Regions from separate parts of the Homo sapiens genome. Here regions 1 and 3 are each linked to region 2. Evidence: promoter capture Hi-C in human tissues and cell types (Jung and others, 2019). All regions are on one chromosome and are shown on one strand. The core of a region is centred on a gene start or on the middle of the fragment in contact, and the rest is flanking DNA. Distances in the headings are between cores, read along the strand shown. Region 1 has its middle 21 kb from the start of ME1. Region 2 holds the start of PRSS35 (serine protease 35). Region 3 has its middle 33 kb from the start of PRSS35.

Region 1 (3,353 bases), core at 102-2,601, 60 kb after region 2:
GTACAATTTGCTTACTTCATTGAAAACTTTCCATTTTATCGTTTCAAAGTTTTGGTTTTCATTTTTTATTTGTGGACTGTAGGAGCTATTGTATTTGAAATGCAAGTATATTTCTGAGCCCACTTTCAGTCCACCATCCAGCTAGGATTAAGGGATAACATTTTGGCAATTGTGTAAGTTCACATTCTTGGGTTCCAAGCAACAATTTCAAAAAAGGTTTCTTTTCTTCTTTGTTATTTCCAACATAAAGAAATCCTGTCATAGAATTTCTATCATGAATGGACAGCTTCTATCACAGAATCACAGAATCTTAGAATTGGATCTAGTCCACCATCCCACTCAATTCAAGAATCCATTAGTTAGCATAGTTTAGTATCCCAATGAATGATCATCTAGTCTTTGCCTAAAGTCCACCAGTGATGGGAAAATTCATCATCATAAACCCCTATTCTATTTATGGTATAGTAGAAAGCCCAGTGGTTTTGGAAACAGACAAGATGGATTACAATTTTCAGTTCCAACGACATGAGCTAGGGCAAAGTTACTTACTGTCTCTGAGCCGTGTCTTCCATGCCTATGTCTAGCATATAAGTGCTCAAAAAGTGGCTGATGACAAACTGTATGAAGATAAAACTAGTTAACATAAAACATCCTCAGTGGTTGAAAGCTCTTGCCCCTTCCCCACAGAAAGAAAATTCTTTCTCTATTAAGCCAAAATCTGCTTTCCCATAAATTAGTTCATTCAATAAATATTTATAGTAGTACTGTTCAAGGTACTGTATATAACTGTGAACAAGACAGAGGGGAACTTACTTTCAGGAAAATTATGTTCTAGTGAGAAGAAACAGACCAACAGACAATAAATTAATGAATTAAGTTTACAGAAAAAAAATTAAGTGAATAGATAATGATACCTATTATACAGAAGGCTAAAACAGTTATATACTAATTACTGGGTGGCTACTTCAAGGCAAGACACTGCTGAGGCAGTGTCACTTAAGCTGAAATCTGAATGACAATTCTTCTACCCCTTGTTTCTAGATATGGTTTCTGAACAGGTCAGAAAAATTCTTTCCAATTGTTGAAGGCAGCTATCATATTTCTCTTTAGTTCTTTCGCTTCATCTTTCTTATATAACATGATTTCAACACAAATTTTCAGCTGGGAAGGCTCATGTTTTATTAACGCCGTCTTTAAATGTGTCCTAAAATTGAAAACAATACTCCAGGTGTAGCTTGAACCATGTGGAAATGGTAAGAACACCTCTTCCCTTCCCTCTGGATTCTGTACTTCACTGATGATACCTAAGCTTACACTATCTTTTTTGGCAGCCCAATTCTAAATCAAAGCCCAATTCTGGCTAAGTTTTCATCAACTAGAAATACCCAGTCTTTTCCACAGGAACTCCTATTTTGATGCATTGCCTTCTTCCTATGCAGGGACAGTTGTTTCTATACCAGGACTTTACATTTACATTTTTTTTTTTTTTTGAGACGGAGTCTTGCTTTGTTGCCCAGGGTGGAGTGAGGTGGCATGATCTCTGTGTTCACTGGAACCTCCACTTCCTGGGTTCAAACAATTCTCCTGCCTCAGCCAGCCAAGTGGCTGGGATTAAAGGCACATGCCACCACACCCAGCTGATTTTTTTATTTTTTAGTAGAGACGGGTTTCACCATGTTGCCCAGGCTAGTCTCAAACTCCTGACCTCAGGTGATCTGCCCCTTGGCCTCCCAAAGTGCTGGGATTACAGGCATGAGCCACTGTGCCTGGCCTACATTTACTCTTGCTACAGTTTATCTTGTGTTTCAACTAATTCTTCCAGCCTATGGAGGGTTTTGAATCCTAATTCTTTCCTCTACCATACTAGCTATTCCTTTCATCTCCATGTCATTCACAAATTTAGCTAATATGTTGCTAGGTCTATGAAATGGACATTCTGACAAATATAAAAATATTTCAGAGCCTTGGTAAATTATTCAAGAAATACAATTTGCTAATGAAAAAGAAAAGCCACACTACTATGGATGATTCCCCACCACCACCATCCCGTGTTTCCTAAATCATCTGTATTAAGCATTAATTAATTTTATAATTAGGAAGAAAATTATAAGAAATACATATCACAATATATCATCTATATTTTCATCTAAAAAGTTGGTAAATGTTAAAGAGTAAAGACAATGAAACAGCTGTGTGTCATTCTACTAGAGACTTCCCCATAGGCTGATGCAGGGCTGTTAATTTAAATCCAACTCAACCTGGGCAATAATAATATATTAATAAGTGTATTAACATTATGGTAGCAAAATAATGGTCCAGAAGGATGCAGGCCTTTGATTCAATATCCTCATATTTGTTATAATCTCATCAAAATGAGATTTTCTGGTGAAATTTCTTCTATTTCTTAGTTTAAAAGTAATTTTCTCAAGAATCCCTAGAAATAGTGATTATTTGAGTCAGTCAAACCTTTAAAAAAGCAAAATTTTCTGCCATAGTGTATGCTTAAAAAACTAAACAAAAGTGTTTAGAATTTAAACTTTGAATCTTGGCATACAACTAATACTCAGAGGACAAAGAATGCATTTCTGAGTGTGGGAAAGCATTTGCCTTTGAGAGAAATTTAGAACAAAAAATAACATTTTGCTGGGTGTGGGCAGAGAATTAGTTCTTATTCAGAGAGAAATGCTTACATGATATAATTGTCTTAATACAATTTATAGATAGAACACATTGACCTTGAGAAGTTCAGGTCAACTTGAATATTTATCCTTTTATTTCCCTGGAGATCTGACATTGGAATTTGGTTCTTTTTGTTTTTTTGGTAAAACTTAGCCTAAAACCTAATCTGTGTCTTTTTTTAAAACTTGACAGTAAAGCAGGCAAAAGCAGGGGTCATCACCTTAATAACATCGTCCTCCTCTCCCTGCTTCCCAGCTCTCTGTTGCTAATCTCAAGGCAAGAGTGAGCTGGAACATGGCAGGTAAAGCTGTTGCATAGGCTCAGTTGAGGAAAGAGGGAGACATCTGAGATTAAGAATCATTTTTGGTTGTTAAAACAATGACCAGTTTTCCTTTAAAAGCATGGGCATGGTCTTGATGAACACATTTCTTCTTTCATCGTATCAGATTTCATATCAATGACATTCACTGATTTTTCTTGTCACCTAAGAGAGTTAGTCAGTCGGGATCTTACTGCTTAAGATGGAAATTAGAGAATGTCCTAGGGCATGTACACACCTTCCATAAACTGTCTCTTCAAGTACAGGGCAACACACCTCTTGAACTCCTACTATGCCTCAAGCACCAGGGATTCAAAGATGAACGAAATGTAGGTCTTACTCTTGAAGAACTCAC
Region 2 (3,129 bases), core at 33-2,532:
GTATGCCAAGTATATGCTAAACAGTCTCACATTTTAAAACGTGAAAAAGCTTCTTAAAAGCATGCAGTTTTCCCAGCTATCTGGAAGAAAAATGGGGTACAGTATCCACATCTACCACTTCCCTCACTAAAGGAACTCCTCTAATATTTCCTAATAAAAATAAAATTCCATATGATACTTGGCCTCTACCTTCAAGCCTACATGTCTTATTTGGCAGGGATTTTAACATTCTCTCTTCTAAATTATAAACCAGATTCTAAGTATAATTCTCCAGCCAGCAAAATATGACTTTTATAATCCTCTGTGGAGACAAATGTACTTCGGATAAAATAAGAATGAATTTCAGAAGTCAGAAGGGTTAATAAGGGGTGAAAGCCCCCTAGACACAGCAAGCAGCTTCTTTTCAAATCAAGGACAGTGTAAAAATGTCAGAGCAATCAAGCGGGAGTGTTTCTACAACTTTTTAAAAAACCTTTTATTATAGAAAATTTCAAGACTACACAAAAGCACAGAGAAAAGTATTAAGTTGAGAGAAAAGTACAACCCCCATGTGCACATCACCAGCTTCAACTATTGTCAATATTTTGCCAATGTTTCATCCACCATCACCACCCCACACACTTTTTTTTTTCAGCTAGAGTATTTCAAAGCAAGTCAAAAGCTTTTCTACTTCATTTCGCCGCCTCATTTTCTAAACGTTTTCCTATGCTCCTTTTGCTGACCTCCGCAGCCAAGTTGATAAAAGGGTAGAGGGGAGAGGCTAGCTTTCATAGTAACCCCGCCAAAGAGACTTTTCAGGAATGCGTTTCATACCTTTCTCAATGGCATCTGTTAACAATCATAAAAATAAAGAGGGTCCCCTCTGGTACTGCTTAAGCAGAAAGAATTCCATTTATATTCCAATGCAAACATTGTTGTCGTTAATATTAAACTGTGCAGAGGCCGGCACACAGAATTGCCTATGGGAAGGGTGGTTAGTTTCTTTGAGGACTGAAAGAAAGTGTCAAGTTTGATCCCTTTCTTCAAAGTCCTTCAAAGAAGCTCTCCTCGGGTAGGTCCTGCCTTTCTCAGGGAAATTTCTAAGTTCTAAGGTTGTTGGGTTTGGGGAGCTTCATCTTTACCTGCCAGGCTTGTTTGGTCCCCGAGGGCACTGTCAGCTGAGATCAGAGCTCCCGAGGAGGCGGGCGGGGACGCTGCAGCTGGGAGCCTCTCAGCCAGCCTGAGCCGGAGGCCGCCCCGCCAAGGCCGGGCCACAGCACCCAGAGCTCGCCACTGAGACTGCGGAGGGGGAGAGAGCTGCGCCGCACCACGGCCGGGAGATGGGAGGGGAAAGGGGGCGATGACGAGGGGCGGGCGCGGTGGGATGGAGTGGGGGGAGGGGAGGAGGAGGAGGTGGGCAAGAGGAGACGGAGAGGGAGGGCGGAGAGGGGAGTTCCCTGGAGGAACGGGGCGGACCTGGCCGTGTCTCACCCCAGCATTTCTGCCCCCAAGCTGAATTAAGCATTAGGAAAAATTCATGAGTAGGTTCACAGGGGATGCCTGTCCCTGTAATAGTATGCACTCCTTTAACAGTCTCAGGAGTTGTTCAGTTAAGAGTCTCATTCCTCACTGCTTGCTGTTGAGACCCCAGGCATCTAGAAGAACGGAGGGCGTCTCCCCAACCTTATCCCAAGCTAGTCTCCACCGGGGACCTAGCTTCTCTGGATGCACAAGCCTCAGGGTTACCCCGACTTGTACCAGGCGCCCAGGCTGCACACGAGGATGGGGACCTCAGGCTGGGACGCCTGGACCCCCGGGAGCATCCTGCGCTGCCTCCAGGGGGAGCGCGTCAGTTTCCGTCTGCAGGGAAAAGGCTGGTTTTCCTCTTTGGGCGAGTAACCTTTAAGGTCCTTTCCCATCTCAGTCCCACCAGCATTCTAACCTCATCCGTTCTCTCGACCTTTTATTCTCCTTTAGGAGAGGGGTGGGGGCCACATGAGAAAGGAAGCTTCATTTGTTTAACAACAAATTCTAGTGGGTGACAGGTCTGGGGCAAGATGAACTGATACAACGAGAGAATACATAAACAAAAACAAAAACAAAAACAAAAAAACTCGGTCCTGGCCCTAAAGCAGGGAGATCGAGTAAGTGCACAAGTACTTACAACACAAGGTCTTAGCATGTCTTGTAACACTTGGTTCGTTAGTAGGTTATTGCGTATCTCAAGTTCTGTGTACTTTTAATGAGATTATAACATACTTAGCATTGTCCCTCGTTATACTCAACGGACTAGTTCCAGGCCCTCTTCCCCTCCGCCCCCCCATACTAAAATCATCCCATATTCAAGTCCAAGTCCAGCTGTGGGCCCTGGGGAACCCGCGTATAGGAAAAGTCTGCCCTCTGTTTAAGCATTTCTGCCTGAAAATACTGTTTTCTATCCGCTTTTGGGTGAAAAAAAAAATCTGTGTATAAGTGGACCTGTGCAGTTCAAATATGTGTCCAAGGGCCAACTATATATACAATTTCATTGCTGTTTTCTCATTTAGCATTGTTAACATAAGCATTTACCCATATATTAAAATCTATTGGTAATTTTTACCAGTTAGAATTAGTTCTGAAGCTCTCTGTCACCAATTAGATCATAATAGTCATATGCATCTTTGAATCACCACCATCTACCACAGGGCCTGGCATATAGTAGCTGCTGCATTAGACGTGGAACTAAAAAGTTTGCTAGTCAGATGGAGTGTGGAGAAGTCACAGAGAAAGTCCAGAACTCAGAATGGGAATTCCGCCTGACACTAAATAGCTGTGTGCCCTGGGCCTCCGCTTTTTCATCTGTAAATTGAGATGGTTGAGCTGGAGGAGTTCCAAGGCCTGCAGCTCTCAAACATTTTTGGGATTCTAACACTGTATAAATCCAGAAGGATTCACTGTGGACCCAGGTCTGCTTCCTTCACTTTATTCAGCATTCTCCACTAGCATCACAGAAAGCAAACTTCCAGGGCTCTTTCATTTTCATGCCCCCCTTCTTGAGCCTTTGACCCCAAGCCCTTTTGTACCCTATTTCTGGATCTATTCCAGGTTGTCTTATCATTAATTTGACTGTTTTCAAAATTTATCGCTTTACTTCATCTGGTCCTGATGCTT
Region 3 (3,401 bases), core at 662-3,161, 33 kb after region 2:
CTAAATAGTGGACATAGTACCCAATAGGTGTTTCTTCAACCATTGCCTCCTTTGCTACCTCCTCCCTTAGGGAGTTTCCAGTGTCTCTGGTTTCTATCTTTATGGCCGTGTGTACCCAATGTTTAGCTCCCACTTATAAGTGAAAACATGTAGTATTTGATTTTCTGTTTCTGTGTTAATTCACTTAGGATAATAGCCTCCAGCTGCATCCATGTTGCCTCGAAGGACATGGTTTTGTTCTTTTTTATGGCTGCTACTTCATTCATCTCTGAGTGCACTGAAGTGATTGGTTAAATGACAACATATCTGTCCTGTCAAGCTCTTTAACTTGTAAGCCAGAATTTAACTCAAGTCTTTAAAGAGAAAAATTGTATGCTCATAAAACTTCTTGTGAAACAGATATGAATGATGTCTAAATTTAATTCAGTATATATTTCCATAAAATCTTACAACAAAACTCATGGAAACTATAGGAAGATGTCATGTCAGCCATTTCTATCATAGAACAAATATATACTCTCTCAGTTTCATGTCACCTTTTTTAAAAAAATGATTTCTTGAGGAAATACCTTTCTCTCCCTCTGGTAAATTGATTGAACTCTGGAAAGCTGTAACAGAAGAGAGGTTTGGGTCAGGCTGCCTAGAGGAACTTACCTCCCTTGGCAATTGATGCGATCCTGGCTTGTGTCACACAGGTATGATGCAAGTCTGTGCATGTGTGAAGATTATGCTTAACCAAGGGTTTACTTAGTGCAATGATGAAACTGAACTTTGGGGAGTTTTGAGACATAATTCTGTGAAATATAATTGTAACTAAGGTCTCTTTGAGGTAGTTAAGGTCTTTCCCTAGCCATAATAATATTGACTTATTTTGCCTTGCTTTTGGCATTAAGATAAAGACAAAGAGAAACAGTCATTCAAAAGATTGATTCACAATTTTTAAGCACTTTTAGTGCTGGGTATTCTGCCCGGCGCCATAGGTAATCTGAAATAAAAAAAGTCTGAGTTACTGCTCAAGGAAGACCTTGTCAAGTAGGAGGAGCTATGTCATAAATACAGATAACCATAGTATAAGGTAGAAAGTGGCATGCACTATACATTTGAACAAAATGCTAAGGGAGTTCAAGTGGGAAAGACTATTTACAATGGGAGCTGAGAAAGATTTAAAAAAATTCTTTATAAAGGAGGGGACATTTAATTTGGGCCCTAAAGGCTAGGTAGAAACAATAGCTACTGATGAAGTGGAGAATATTAGAGGTAAACACTTAACAAAGGTGTAGCAATAGGTTTGGAGGAAAAATGAGCCATTCTGTTTTGTTGGTATACAAAGTAAAAGTAGGAAAGAAATAATAGATAATTCTGGAAAGATAAGATGAACCGTACCAAGGAGGGTTTTAAATGTCCAGCTGTCATTATTACTCATTAAACATTAACAATGATTTATTCCTTTTACCATGTATTACAAAATAAGGCTAGCTGCTGTATAGACATATAAAATAAGGAAACATGGTCTATATGTGTACTGGATATAAAATATAGTTCTCTCAAATATAAATGGTCTCTGCCTTATTCTACTTTATAAATATTCTGGTTTTTTAAAATGCTTATTTATATTTATGTTTAGTTATGTTTACATTTGTCTTTATATAAGATTTGTACTTACCTATCACTTACAATGGCATGGATAACTCAGATAACTGGTTCCAATAGCAAACTAGTTTTCCTCTGACCTGCTTGTAGCTATCTTTAGCAGTACCTAGACTATTACTTAATGAGCTTCAGTCTGCCAAGGTCATAGAGATTTTCATGACCTTTGTTCTCTTCCCTTAATTTTTAAGCATGCAGAACATCATGAGCCAGTTATACTAGCCAATCTTTAACATTAAACATATGTGGACGCCACTTAATAATTCCCCTGACATTGACCTTCTATTCTATACCCTCCCTAGTCCTAGTCTGTGGTAGGCACCATTTGGCCTTCCAAATTTCTGGGTCCTGGTGTACATACACTTTCTTCCACTTATTCAAACATCAATCTATGTGTTGCTATGAATAAATTTTGAACATGCAATTAAGGTCCCAAATCAGTTGACCCTAACATAGGAAAGCTTACACCTGGATGGGCACACAGTGGCTTACACCTGTAATCCCAGCACTTTCGGAGGCTGAGGTGGGAGGATCGCTTGAGCCCAGGAGTTTGAAACCAGCCTGGGCAACATAGGGAGATCTTGTCTCTACAGAAAAAATTAAAAATTAGCCAACATTGGTGGCACCTGTGGTCCCGGCTGCTCAGGAGGTTGAGATGGGAGAATCACTTGAGCCCAGGAGGTCGAGACTGCAGTGAGCTGTGTTTCTGCCACTGCACTCCAGCCTGGGTGACACAGTGAGACCCTATCTCAAAGAAAGAAAGAAAAGAAAGTATTCCTGACTCATATGAAACCCCTGTGTACTCTGCCCCAATCCTGTTGTTCCCCTCACTTTTTCACCAGAGGTAATCACTGTCTTGAATTTGATGTTTCTCATTCACATGTGCTTTTATACTTTCTCTAATGTGTATATATCTATAAATAAAGATAAAATATTGTGTTGCATGTTTATAAAACTTTTCATAAATGGCATCATGGTGTTTGCAACTTTCTGAAAGATGTTTCTTCCCCTATCTTTCATTGTTATGGTTTTGAGAATAGCATCGTTTTATTTGGGCATATGGTGTCCCTGGCTGAACACTAGCAGTCCCCACTCCAGAATTTATAGGGATGTTGGAAGGAATGACACATAGGCACCAATAGATATAAAATAAGGTTTATTACTCACAGAATAAAGGGTAAAAAGATTCCTCAAGGAGAAGAGGTCAGGTTCAGACAGCGTTACTCTGTCTTAAACCACATTGTTCTAATTACTATATCTTTTGGATGCAAGATTCCTGATATCTTAAAGAATGAGTCCCCTATTCTTCTTCAGAATTATTTTGGCAATTCCTGGCCTTTTGCTCATTTATATGGATAACTTTAGGATAAACTCAGTAACTTTTATCAAAAAAGCCTGTTGGATTTTGGATGAACTAATGTCTTTGTTATTGAGACTTCCCATTCATGGGCATTTGTTTCTTTAATGTCTCTCAAAATTTTTATTTTTCTTTATAAAAGTCTTAAAGATTTATTTCTGGATACCTTATATGCATTATTGCTATAATACATATCTTCAAAAATTATATTTTGAACCATTTGTTGCTGGTTTTTAGGAATACATTTGATTTGCAGGACCATTATCTATTGATTCATTGAATATTTTATTATAGAAAAGCATATAAATAGAAAAGAATGACATTTTATGACTTTCCTTTTAATCCTTGTATTTCCTTATTTTCCTTGTGACTTATATCAGAAGGGCTTTTAATAAAA

The links. Contacts are between HindIII fragments. The study calls those that stand out against the background at their distance.
Region 1: a fragment that was not itself captured here is called in contact with the fragment with the promoter of PRSS35 in region 2 in 4 of the 25 tissues and cell types used here (mesendoderm cells, small bowel, stomach and 1 more).
Region 3: a contact is called between a fragment that was not itself captured here and the fragment with the promoter of PRSS35 in region 2, in 2 of the 25 tissues and cell types used here (bladder and thymus).

Annotation. Positions count from the first base shown.
Region 1 is chr6:83,450,856-83,454,208 of GRCh38, reverse strand. No RefSeq gene overlaps it. Among named protein-coding and RNA genes, the nearest start is that of ME1, 21 kb to the right of the region's middle. The HindIII fragment of the contact is 6,664 bases long and covers 1-3,353 here.
Region 2 is chr6:83,510,687-83,513,815 of GRCh38, reverse strand. It overlaps PRSS35 (serine protease 35), which reads right to left and starts at 1,282. Exons shown (of 2, transcript NM_153362.3): 1 at 1,122-1,282. The HindIII fragment of the contact is 4,019 bases long and covers 356-3,129 here.
Region 3 is chr6:83,477,963-83,481,363 of GRCh38, reverse strand. No RefSeq gene overlaps it. Among named protein-coding and RNA genes, the nearest start is that of PRSS35, 33 kb to the left of the region's middle. The HindIII fragment of the contact is 3,233 bases long and covers 295-3,401 here.